Regions from separate parts of the Homo sapiens genome. Here regions 2 and 3 are each linked to region 1. Evidence: promoter capture Hi-C in human tissues and cell types (Jung and others, 2019). All regions are on one chromosome and are shown on one strand. Each heading gives the region's core, a stretch centred on a gene start or on the middle of the fragment in contact. The rest is flanking DNA. Distances are from core to core; before and after follow the strand shown. Region 1 holds the start of LINC00908 (long intergenic non-protein coding RNA 908). Region 2 overlaps ZNF516 (zinc finger protein 516). Region 3 overlaps ZNF516 (zinc finger protein 516).

The links. The method cuts DNA at HindIII sites, captures the fragments that hold promoters and counts their contacts. A contact is called where the count stands out against the background at its distance.
Region 2: a contact is called between a fragment that was not itself captured here and the fragment with the promoter of LINC00908 in region 1, in 2 of the 25 tissues and cell types used here (lymphoblastoid cells and mesendoderm cells).
Region 3: a contact is called between a fragment that was not itself captured here and the fragment with the promoter of LINC00908 in region 1, in 2 of the 25 tissues and cell types used here (lymphoblastoid cells and spleen).

What each region holds. Positions count from the first base shown.
Region 1 is chr18:76,525,843-76,530,372 of GRCh38, forward strand. LINC00908 (long intergenic non-protein coding RNA 908) reads left to right here and starts at 2,813. Exons shown (of 3, transcript NR_015417.1): 1 at 2,813-3,121. RefSeq lists enhancers at 2,555-3,195, 3,196-3,834, 3,332-3,411, 3,835-4,474. The HindIII fragment of the contact is 15,253 bases long and covers 1-4,530 here.
Region 2 is chr18:76,445,934-76,450,124 of GRCh38, forward strand. The region is part of intron 2 of ZNF516 (zinc finger protein 516); the gene reads right to left. Among named protein-coding and RNA genes, the nearest start is that of ZNF516-AS1, 44 kb to the right of the region's middle. RefSeq lists enhancers at 165-743, 744-1,322, 1,323-1,900, 2,786-3,287, 3,288-3,787. The HindIII fragment of the contact is 3,236 bases long and covers 54-3,289 here.
Region 3 is chr18:76,411,611-76,415,877 of GRCh38, forward strand. The region is part of intron 3 of ZNF516 (zinc finger protein 516); the gene reads right to left. Among named protein-coding and RNA genes, the nearest start is that of ZNF516-AS1, 78 kb to the right of the region's middle. RefSeq lists an enhancer at 371-931. The HindIII fragment of the contact is 9,760 bases long and covers 1-4,267 here.

The sequences.
Region 1 (4,530 bases), core at 1,563-4,062:
TTTAAAAGCTGTCTTAATTTAAATCAGGATAAATTAAGACAGTGACAACCTCAATTGAAATTGAAAATACAAATCACTTGAAAACGTTGATTAAAATTTCTAACAAGACTTTAGAAATGTCTTGTAATACCTTCTGACTATAAATGCACTTTAGACATTTCTGGTTTCACTCCTCAGCTACATGTTTTGTTATTAAGAGCATTTGTTTCATACCGTTAACAATACAGCACTAGTTTGACAAATTGTGGTATGGGGGTGTGAGTGCCTGATGGAGAAAGAGGCTTTGTCTTTTGGGGGGCCCATTAGTGAAACAACTAATAAGCCTATAGCAAAACTGATATGATGGGAAATGACTTCTATTCAGTTAACTCGATTATTAGTGCTAATTGGGGCCAGGTGAAGCATGGATAATTGAAATTCACAGATAATCCAAAAACCTCTATTTAACCAATAACTTCAAACTTCTTCCCCATCAAACCAATTACCGGAGGAGCTAACAAATAGAAAAAATGGATTAAATTGAATTTCACTTCCCCCAAAGATTACCACTATGATGTCTTTTTTATTGATTAATTCAGAGCAAGAGCCAAAGATTAACTATATTTTAGAGACTAAATTACAGATAGTCCCCAACAATTAAAAAGAAAAAGATTATATTCCAACGGTTTGTTTATAAATCAGTTACTTCAGTTACTTGAAGCTCAGAATGCTTTTTCTCATAGAACAAAGCGTCGATTGGGGTAGGGTACCAAGGTAGCACACAGAGGTCAGCCAGTAACCCAATGACACTGGAAATATATTTAAGATTCTCAGCTCCTTAGTCAAGTTCTTTTGAATCCTAAATCCTTACCCTCCCACCCCTAAATCTCTCTGAGCCTTCAATCTATTTTTTTAACTGAAGTAAAACTCACATAGCCTAAAATCAAAAGTGTACAACTCAGTGGCATTTAGTGTAGTCACGGTGTTATGCCACCATCACCTCCAGTTTCAAAACACTGTCCTCATGCAGAAAGGAAAGCCCCCTTGGACCCATTAGCAATCATTCCCCATCCCCGACTCCTTCAGACCCTGGCGACCTCGGATCTGCTTTCTGTCTCTATGGATTTGCCTCTTCTGGACATTTCATACAACTGGGCTCATAACAATCTGTGGTATTTTGTGCCTGACGTCCTCCACTCAGCATAAGGCTTTTAAGGTTCATCCACGTTGTGGCATGTGCCAGTGTTTCACTCCTTCTCATGAGTGAATAATATTCCATCGTGGGGATACAGCACACTTTACTTATCCATTCCCCCTCTTGGAGGGGTGCTTGAGTTGTTTCCATTTTGTGGCTACTGCGAATGCTGCTGCTATTAAACCTGATTTTGACCCTGTGGTGGCATAAGGAGCTCATCAGGGTGAACTGGAAGGGGTGTGCCCCACTGCTGGTGTCTGGTCAAGCAAACCCTCACCCCTTGAGAGAGGAGTCAGTGGGAGACACCACTCAAGTCTCCATAATGAGGGACAATTTCAGGCTGGGACAACATGGTGGAGGAAGGACCTCTTCAGAGAGGAAGTGCACGTAAGGGGCAAGGACCCTAGAAAGACCTGTGGGACCTGTGGAGAGTATGCACGTCCTTCAGATTGAGGCTGGTTTGAGGCCGGGTGCCATGGCTCACGCCTGTAATCCCAGCACTTTGGGAGACCAAGGCAGGCGGATCACCTGAGGTCAGGAGTTCGAGACCAGCCTGGCTGACAAGGTGAAACCCCGTCTCTACTAAAAATACAAAAATTAGCCGGGCGCGGGGGCACACACCAAAAAAAAAAAAAAACAAACCTGGGCTGAGTGCAGAAATCAGTCCAATCCAGGGAGAAATCTGGCAAATACTCTTGGCCAGCTCCTGTTTTTCTGAAAACATAGGTGCCAGAAGAGCATCCGGTAGCAGCTGCCAAGTTCAATACTAGGACTCCACTCCACAGACAATTCTGTCACCCCATTGTGGGTGTCCTGGATGCCCAGAAAACCCACATCTCTTGATAAAGTCCTCCTGTGGTAAGTCTGCAACCCCTCTGCACCCAGCCCCTCTGCTGACACCCCCTCTGCACCCTGCATCTTTGCCAAGTGGGGAGAGATGCATTCCAGAACTCCAGTGGCAGGATCTGCCCTTGCCGGGATCATGCAGACTTGGCATTTTCCAGTACCTACTGTTGCTTGAGGTTTCTTATAATAGAGCAGGATGAGCAACACGACTTCTCGTTTTGTAATTTGGCACATATGTATATGTTTTATACATACATGCTATGTGTCTATATGTACACACGGCAATACATACGTGTATATGTATACGTATATATGTATGTCAACGAATACCTAAATATATAATCATATGAAACAAACTGTTTATCCCTGTTCCATAAACTTCATATCAATTCAATAAATAAAATTTATTCAAAATCCAATCATCCCAACACATTAACATTTAATTTTTCCCTATTTTCTGTCTGTGTTTGTCATTGAATATTAAAAGTTTTGCTTTTTTTTACTATTTCACCTCTTTTCTAGGTAGTCCATAATTTTAAAACAATATATATGGCACCACTTGGTCTTCACAGCTTTCAAGACAGGACTGTCAAGGCAAGGACACTCCTTAGGGGACCCTGTCCCATAAAGTCAAATTATGCGGGATGAGTCAGTGACGCAGGAGCTAAAAACAGTGTCCCTTTAAAAATGTGCATGCCTTTGAAATGGAATAAGTAAAGTACTTGCAGATGCAAATGGTTTCAAGTTTCACTGGAGACCCAGCGAAAGCGGCTGTTCTCAAAGTTGCCAGGCAGTGTGGAAACGCCCACTGAGGGGCACACAGTGAGGCGGCCACTGGCTCTGTGTCCTTGGGGAAGCCCCTTCTGCGGTCCCCTCCATTGTCTGCGTGACAAAGTGGACGTAGAACTCCCCCATTTCCTGCCCAGGGCGGGTGAGGACCCTGCACACACACGGTGTGTTTGTGAGCTGTGCAGAGTGGGGTCTCCCTGGCAATGGCCACAGCCTCCAGGGGCGCTGACACCTCCCGTCTAACTGGTAGACAGTTTCTGCCTCTTCTTGTTTGGGGATTGGAGAGGGAAGTGCGTCTGGATGACTACTAAGGTAAATATGGAATGGGCACCGCGTCTTCCCTTTCTTCTCTCCCTTCCCACGCACCTGCCTGGCTCCCCGGCTCTCCCGCCCTGGCCAGAGTCAATGTGAGCTGCAAAGTCCATATGTGAACAGCTGTGGGCAAGTCGTGCAACAGTGCTCATGGGACTTACTACGCATCTAAGCCGCTGAACTTCAGCTGGACCCCAAATGGCCTTGGTCACGTTTTGTTTCTGTTTTGTCATTTCCGGCTGCATCTCCCACAGTCTCAGCCCTGCGCTCCTTGCTCTGCCTTCTCCTCCCCACAGCTTCTTTGCAGATAACATCCTGGCCGTATTATGCAACTGAACCCATATTATCCGGGGGAAACTTACCCTCCTCTGCTCTCTAAATCTTCCTTTTCCTTCTGGTTTTGGAGAAAGAGGAGCTCCTTTCCATCAATCAGGTCAACCTCTTCCTGTTTCCTTTCTTCATTCTTCGTTATTTTCCACTCCTGAGTTTTGGACTCTTCTCTCGGTCAATAAGTATATCCGAATTCTTCCAGCTGTAAAACCAACAAATGAAAGGCCTCGTGTACCAAGGCTGCCCCCGCGTGCGGCCCCCCGGGCTGTGTGGCCTTGGCCTGGAACACAGCCCCGCTGCCACCTTCCTGCACTCCGTGGGGGAGATGGGCGGTGCACACTACCCAGAAGTGGAATGTGCATTTCACAGAAAATGACCAATTTAAGCAGAAAATTAAAGCAGAAAACGGGGTGAGAACGGCAGACGCGTGTGTGGGCACCGCAGCGTACACGCTTAGGATCCCGAGTTTATTTTTCTAGGGCCCGTGTGTTGGTGCGCATGCGCGTGCGCCCCCACCACCTGAAATCTTGGTAGTGCCTGTTAACCCGGCAGTAGACCCATGGGTGAATTTACTCTCTTCTCTGTGTCTTTCTGTATTTTCCATGCTTTCTGTGACGAACAACATCATACATACCGCTACTTCTTTTTTTGGGGGGACGGAGTCTCGCTCTGTCGCCCAGGCTGGAGTGCAGTGGCGCGATCTCGGCTCACTGCAAGCTCCGCCTCCCGGGTTCACGCCATTCTCCTGCCTCAACCTCCCAAGTAGCTGGGACTACAGGCGTCCGCCACTACGCCTGGGTAATTTTTTGTATTTTTAGTAGAGACGGGGTTTCACCGCGTTACCCAGGATAGTCTCGATCTCCTGACCTCGTGATCCGCCCACCTCGGCCTCCCAAAGTGTTGGGATTACAGGCGTGAGCCACCGCGCCCGGCCACATATCACTTCTTCTATTGTGCATTCACTGCACACCAAGCACTTCTATTGGGCGTTCACTACACACCAAGCCTAAGTAAGGGCTTTCTGTGCACGCTCTCATTTCATGCTTATGACACTCTGAGAATTAAGACCATTTTGGCCC
Region 2 (4,191 bases), core at 422-2,921, 81 kb before region 1:
TCTGCGCCCAGAGAAGCGGCCTCTGTGCCAGCCAGCTGTGTGCCAGCAGCTGTGCACCCGTCAGCGTGCAGGTCACAGGGTCATGGCCAACACAGGGCATTCAGCACAAAGTGCACACGTGCAGTTGGGAACCCTGGTCCCAGCCCTCATGCTCCCAGTCACCAGCCACATGCCTTTCTAGGCGTGTCCTTCACGCCCTCAACTCGTCCCCTCCTCTGTCAGGCACAGAGAAACAATAAGAAGAAGCCACATGTCACCGAAGCCCCTTGCAAATGCCTCCTTCTATAAAATCCAGTGACCCCCTCAGAGCCCACAGCATCCAGACCCCAGGGACATCCAGGCAAACACACACCTGGCACTTAGGCCCCTCTTCTCATCCCAGGCAGCTTCCTACCCTGCAGGTACCCTTCCAGGAGTGCTGGGGAAATACAGACACTCTCGCTCGTGGATCACCAGAGCCCCCAAATACAGCCCCATCTAGCCCAGCTCAGCAGCACAGCCTCGGCATCCTGGGCCATGACCACGGCTGAGCGGAAGATGGCACAGTATCAAGGAGCATGGCCCTTGTACATCTGAAAGGCCTTTGTGCCAGCATCGGACCCATCCAATCCTTGCACAGCCTTGACTCCCCGGTACCCCCGCCCTAGCTAGAGCCTGAACCCTGGCCCTCAGGCACCCGGTGACTAGAGAATGCAGTCTCCATTTCCTTAAACTCACTTAAAAGCTTTCCCCGAAACTTGCAGAGCCCTGCAATTTACAGGCAGACGTTCAAGGAGCAGCATCCACGATGCTCTGCGATCAACAAAGCAAGCTCTTCCTTCTTTCCTATTTCCTGCTCACTACCTCTCCGCCTGTCCCATCTTTCAAAAATAAGACCTGCTGTAAATCCCTGTGAGAACTGCACAGGATGTGTTTTTAGACTTAAGAACATTGTGAAGGGAAAGATACATAAATGTAGAAATAGAAAAAGTGCTGAGACAGTAACCAAGTTAAGCCCAAACCGCCATTATCTGAAGGACACGTGAGCAAAGCTGCCTCTGCCCAGGGGTTGATTAAGTGATCCCCTCCTGATGTCCACAGTTGACTAGCAAAGTTTCTCAAACCTTAAAGAAACAGTCAAAAATTAATTCCCTGCAACGAACTCTCCTAAGGGGTTACTCAGTGGCCAAATCAAAAGATCTCTGTAATCATTCTTTTTAGCTGCAGGCAAAAATTGCTATTTAAGACAAGGGCATCCCTTCCAAAAAAAGAACAAGAATGCTGTCCTCAGAGCTTCCAACTTCAAAACACGCCATGGGCGGCCGCCCCAATTAGGAGGATTATTGGGACGTCAGCGGCCCTGCTGGCACGACGGGCTGTGCTTTAAATCCCGCCAACCCCTGTAAGCCAGGAGGGTTTCGATGGGATGCCTCCTCCACCTTTATCCTGGTCCCTAGTGGGGCGTGCCTCACGTAGGAGCAGCGCCGTGTGATAAAGTGCTACCTACCTCAGTTCCAGCCGCAGACATTTCCGTCCTGGGCTGCTCTATTCCACTTTCTCAAACGCACGCCAAATACAAGTTGTTCCAACTCTCCCTGTAACACACGGGCCTGGAGATAACCAGCCTTATAAAACTTGTGCATGTGAGCCTGCCACCCAAACCACAGGGAATACGGAAAGGTTCTGCAACAACACAGATGCTCAGAGCCAAGGTGGAGGGTACAGCATGTGTCCAGCTGACATGCAATATGGCGCCCACGCACCTCGGACGGCAGGGACCCATCTGAACACATGGTGTGCCTGTGTGTTCAATCACAGATTTGTTGTTCTGGTAAGATGTATTACAAACTTTTTCCAAGGCTGGAACTGGGAACATGCCAGACAAAACCGTAATTTAATTGTTTAGGCATAAATATGACTTGCTGACTAGGGTTTTAAAGCAGATTTCCAATGGATCTCTTGCTGTATGTGAGTGTGTGTGAGTGTGTGTGTATGTGTGTGTGTTTCTCCAGAGATGTAATCAACAGTTCAAGGCCACTTTTTTTAAATGCCTTATATAATTTTTGAAATAAATTTTTTTATTTCATTTTGAAAAACTTAGGTAACAATCACATTTATTAAAAAACAGGAAGTAAAATGTTTGAAAAAACTGTTTACTCATAACATAAAAATACATTGTAACGGAGAAGGGGAGAGTCTGAAGAAAGGACAAAATATAAAGTAGAAAATATGTAGCTACATTTTAAAACTAACCATGTAAACATCAAAAACATCTAAAGACATATATATTAAGGCTGCTGCCATACCTTTGGATATTTTTCTTTTTCTTTTCCTTGTCTTTCTTTTTTTGCCTATATCATACAATTGAAATTAAATGACTTTCTCCAGATTACTTACATTTGCTAAATTTGGGATACATTTACTCTGTAGGCCAGTATTTCAACTAATCAATCCCTTCTGTAAGTGAGGAAGAACTGCCTTTTTGACCTAATAATACAGAGCAGAAAAGTCACTTCCTGACACACGCCCCGGTAAGCTGCTGAAACACTTCCCGGTGTGAAGAAATGTGTACCCAGGGTTAACCCCACTGACACTACAGAAACTTCTTTAGAAACAAGCACTGCAAAGCCTTGATACAACACATACAGCCAGAAAGAAAACCATGTTCACAAAGCCAGGGGGTATGTACAGCGCAAACATAGCGGAAGCAGTCTCTGTCCACATCCCCGAGGAACTTCAGGTGACGGCAGGCTCCTTAGAGGTGTTCCAGTCCTAGGGCGGTGCGGTCAGGGGCTAACGAGGGTATCCCTGCAACAAGCACTTCCTGAGCACCTACCAAGTGCAAGGCCTCGTATCAGGAGCCAGAGAATCTAAGATGACTCAAAAAAAGCACCCGGCTTCAAGGAACTCAAAGTCAGACAGGGAAGCATACTATTATCAAAGCGTGCTGGCAGCGCACCAGTAAGACAAGGAGAAGTTTCCAGAAGGCCAGGAGGGAAGCGATTCACTATATTTGCAAGGATTGGCCAGGTTTTCCCCTGGGAACCTGAGGCTCACCTGGGAACCACACTGGTGTGGCTTGAATTCTAAGTACTTTTCATGACCCAAGCACAAAACACCAGGTCCTCCCTGGCTCCTCCCTCCCCATCTCAGCAGTGCCCAGTAATAACCCCACATCCTGTCGGCTGCACCTCCCAACTCACTCTTGAATCCATGTGCCCAAGTCAAGCCAAAGCCATCGTTCCAGAGCACAGATGGGGCCGGTCTCCACCAGTCTCCCAGCCCTTCAGAGGCTCCCCAAGTCTGCAAGATGAAGCCAAACTCTTCACCTTGGCTTCTCAGGGTCTGAACCCCATAGCTGCCCTGGACCCCGGTGTCTAGAGCCCTGAGCCCTACTCCGGCCCAACAGCCTCCCAAGTACCCATGCTCATGCTCTCCTCTGGCCCTCAGGCCTGCGTCCCTGCCCCACCTGTCATGAGGCTGACCAACCACCACCCAGGTACAGTACAGCCTTCCTGACCTCCTTCAGCCAATGATAAGAGTCTGGTGACCCAACAAGTTGTGAGAGGCAGCCAGACTACCTGGGATTAAAACCCAGTTCTGCCACTACCTGAGGTCAGCTGTGTGACCCTGAGCAAGTGTCTTAGCCTCTCTATTCCTCAGTCCATTTCTTCATCTTTAAAATGTAAATGATAGCAATGATATCTATTTTATCATACTCCAGTAAAATTTAAATTAATGCATACAAGCCACAATGTTTACTACACTGTAAATCTTCAATCCATCTTAGACGGGATTAATAAGTAATTGTTCAATAAGTGAATGAAATATCAGTGCAAAGGTACTTGGTCACTGGCAATGACAATACATGGTTTAATAAATGCAAAAGGACAAAATAGCAGCTAGAAAGCTGGATTCAAAATAGCTAAATAGGAACACCTCTATATTCACTGGGCCCTTATGGTTTATACAACAACAGGTTATTTAACACAATTAAAAAGTCTTTGACCAACACCTATAATCATCTACAACGAGCACATTCAAACATATTGTAGCTCCAGAACTCTTCGTAGAAATTAAACCTCAATATGGACTGGATATTACAGGATATTTGAGAACTACTGTTACTTGTGTTAAGCTGGTAATATAGGAGAGTGGTCTTATTCTTTGGAGATGTGTAATGAAATATTTAGAGTTGGTTTTTACCAAAGA
Region 3 (4,267 bases), core at 195-2,694, 120 kb before region 1:
GTGTTGAAAACACCACAAAAAACTTCTGAAACACAAAAGCCCAAAGCATCAAACTCAACAAGTCCTAAAATTACCGCTTGACTACGGAGAGGGCTCAGAAGGCTCCAAAGACCTGAAACCTCATCTTGACCTTCCTTTTTCATCCACAAAATGAGGAGGTGGATGGGACAGTCTCTGCCAGGAGCCCTCTGCACTCAGGCAGTGGGGAGACAGTGCCTGAAAACGTGTACCACCCCTCCAGCATAAAGCAGTTTTTAAAATATTTAAAATACCACTTTTTATTATCACATACTTAGATAAGAAAACTAGCAAAGCACATAGGTCATCTTAACCTTAAAATACTCTTAAAATAAAAACATCTGAACATTCAAAGGAGTCAACCCGAGATGATCCCAGATCATAAAACGTATCCTCTCCAAGACCGTGTGGGTGTGTATTCCAGATTTTTTAATGACCTCGGCAAAATGCAAGAGCAGCCCAGAGACCACCATGTAGATGGTAAATAGTGGCATTGTTGCAGCTGAATGTCAAAAACTATTTTCAGAGGAAGCGGCACTAATGATTCACAGCTCCCTGATGAGGCTGCATTCCTAAGTCCGGGACCAAGACCAGCGAAGGTCGCCGTGCTGACTGCTGCTGCACTTCCAGGGGAGAACACCCTGGCGATGCTCTCCTTCCTCACTGGGGACAGAGGGGACGTACACGGCACCCAAAGGGACGGCCTGAAACAGGAAAACCTGAAAACAGCCCTGACTCTGGGTGGGCCACTCCAGCCCAAGGCTCTCCTCCCCTCCTGGGAGGGCCATTCCTACTCTTAGCTTAGTCCTACTGCACACAGGCGTGACCCCAAACACTGCCTCCACTCACCTGGGGACCGACGGGAGCCCACACACTCTACGAACCCACCTGGCGATCAGCAGGGCCAGCCTTAGGAAGACAATGGCCATGGAGACTGACCTCATTTCTTCCTCAAGGACTGCAATGCACTGGGTAATAGAGGAAGGGAGGGGAGGCCGGAGGATAAGGACACACCGTGCCTCCTGATGTGGAAGCAGGAAGTCAAGTCGTTGCCAAGATGTGGCCCCACGTGACAAAGTGACCAACAGCAACTGAGGCAGCTCCTGGACTCTTTTCCTCTCAAGATTTTGTCTGGACACAGTTTTGGGCAACCAGGGATTCCATGGTCCCACTGAGTCCTCTCCTCTCCCAAAGAACTCCGGGTCTTCTTTCTAGTCTTTCTTCCCTCAATGTCCCGGGACACCGGGCTGAGTGTGGCATCCTCCCTCCACCTCGCCCACCTCTGAGTCCCGCCATAACCTACCCGGAACCTACCAGAACCTAGCATCACTGCACGCCACCGCGGCCCACAGTGAGCCCTGCTCAGAGGCCCACTTCTCCTTAGACATGAGACACTGCACCTGCCAAGGTAATGCTGAAACCAAGGCCTCTGTGAGGAAGCGGGAAGCGGAGGCAGAAACGAAGTGCTATTATTTGGAAACAGGACGTACTGCTGAAAATGCCATACGGTTTATTCCCATTTTTTAAAAAAGATTTTCTGTGGCTTTAAAGTTGACCACACTCTCTCTCTCCTTAGTGACTAATTCAATCCTGCAAACCTTGCCAAAACAATAAAAATGTAGTGGAAGAACTTTAAGTAGAATTTAGCAGTTAAATTCTACTACTACATGACTTTAAAATTATATATAAATTACACATATCTAAAATCCTTCTCTGGCGGACGCCAGGCTCCTAGGCAGCAGGGAGAGGGTATCGTTCATCTTGCCTAGCAGCACCACACCCAACAGACGTCTGTTCAATCAATCAATCGATAGAAAGATGCTAGGACTAAGGAAGAGAAAAGGATCCAGGTTTCCCATGCAATCCCATTATCAATCAACCAACTACATTCACTTTATATGACTATATTAATAAGATAAAGTACATTTTTTGTTTCAAAAAAAAAATTATGTCATGACTGGTTCAATTTCATCCCCTCGAATACCTCAGCACACCTTAACGCCCACCCCCAAATATCTGGGCTGCCACGGTTTCCTCCCACCGGAACTGATTTTATGCTAAGATATATGTTTTCTTCATCTAACCCACTTTGGGCAGGGGTTCAATGTGACTGTATAAAACTAAAATTGAAACAGGTCTTTAAATGATGACGTAAAAGCCAATAATATTGGTGAACAAGAAAAATCTTCACGAAACCTCATGAACAAAAATGTCCCAAGTCTTCACACAGTTCTTATGTATTCAAGACTAGTGAACATCTGCTTATTTAAAAGGTTTCGTTAAATGTTTTTTCAAACTGATACAATATTTAAGCAGTTTGTCTGATTACTAAACAGTTCAAGAAATTTCATGTCACTTTTTTTAAACAAACATTGGAACAAAAAGTTTTATTCTTGAGAAATTCTTAGGCCATCAAAACATTATCTTTTACCCTTACTCAAAAACTTCACTTTAAAACTGTATTTCTTACAGAATTTTAAAGACTAACATGTACATATATAGATTCCTATGTATTTACATTAAATTAGTGAAATCCTTCATTGTTGTTTGGCTTTCAGCATTACCAATTGTTTACAATCCAGTTGTTTAAAAAAGCCTACTTATTCTGAAACAAGCCATTTTCCTACTTTCTTGAACAGCATACTAGCATATCCTGAAGTACGATTTCACTGAAAAATAATCTTATTTAAAGTTGGGATACCAGTTCCACGTGTTATTTTCCTCAGCTGGGTTTCAGTTTATTTTAAGGGTTTTCATCCCTAAAATGTAATATAATGTCTTACAATTTAGCTGATCACAGAACAAATGCCCTCTGTCACTATGTATACCAGCTGGCAATACAGGCAATGCTGAATGTACACAGTTTTCGTGTCTCTGGTGATTTTCAAGAGTTACACAGTAAACCACAAACTGCTATTTGAATCTACATACTACTGTCGATCAAAATTCTCTTTTCAGGTTTTCTTTAACTTTCTTCACCCGAAGAAGGTTACCTACTTCATTAGCACTGTAGTTGTTTAAAGGCTCAATTAAGAATAATTATGTGAAAGATAAACCAATAAATTCTAAAATTTGGTCTTAAATTTCTTAAAATGACATAAGTCATGAGAAGAATGGGCCAATCATGTTCGCACCAACTATGTGATATTAAACACATAGAGAATCTGGCTTTTAATCTATTTTTCAAATCAAGTGATACGTGTGTGCACACACAGACACCACACATTCTTAAATGTCTCACCACAATGGATCAGCTCTGGGTTCTAATACAAAAAAATAGTAGTTTACACTGGATGCGGTGGCTCACGCCTGTAATCTCAGCACTTTGGGAGGCCGAGGTGGGCAGATCACCTGAGGTCAGGAGTTCAAGAGCAGCCTGGCCAACCTGGTGAAACCCCATTTCTACTAAAAATACAAAAATTAGCCAAGTGTAGTGGTACATGCCTGCAGTCCCAGCCACTGGAGAGGCTGAGGCAGCAGAATTGTACGAACCCAAGAAGTGAAGGTTGCAGTGAGCCAGGATCGCCCCATTGCACTCCAGCAGCGTGGGCAACAGAGCAAGACTCCGTCTCAAAAAAAGAAAAAGAAAAGAGGAAAAAAGAAAAGAAAAAGAAAATAGTAGTTTAGAGCTAGCTGAGAAGAGCTCTTAACAGAACAGAACTGATAAGGCGTGAGTGTTCCCAGAGCACTTATTCTCTGGCCAGCTCATGTGTGTGACAATGGCCTGGCACTGACGGTTGTCACGGCAAGCCCGGCTGTGGCTTTGACACCCATCTAACTTTACTAGATGTGAATTTTCCAACCACTAAGTGCACGCCTCTGAGCCATCGCCTTAGACTGTAAGTAAGTGGATGTATATTCCATGATCAAGGGGGTGCAAAGAGGGCACAGCCAGCTCTCAGCGGTGGCCATGCAGAACCTGCCTCTCCGTTGGATTCTGCGGAGGTGGGTTCTGAAGTGCAACGGCTGCAGTGGAGGAGTCGGGGTTCTCGGGGAAACAGCCGTGGAAAGAGCCTGTTTTGCTGTTTGAACCAAGTTACCTCCTGCCCAGGAAAGAATGCTTCTAAATACAAGCTTACTGCAAATTGCATCTCTCTCACTTCAACTGCATAGAGAAACCGGCTCAAAATGCAGCATGTCCTCAACAGAGTTCAGGGTTTCTGATTCAGGATAAGTCTGCACCACTCAGGTTCCGTGAGGCATAAATGAGGCCCTGGGTCCCTTAACAATGTGTATCTTCGAAAGTTAG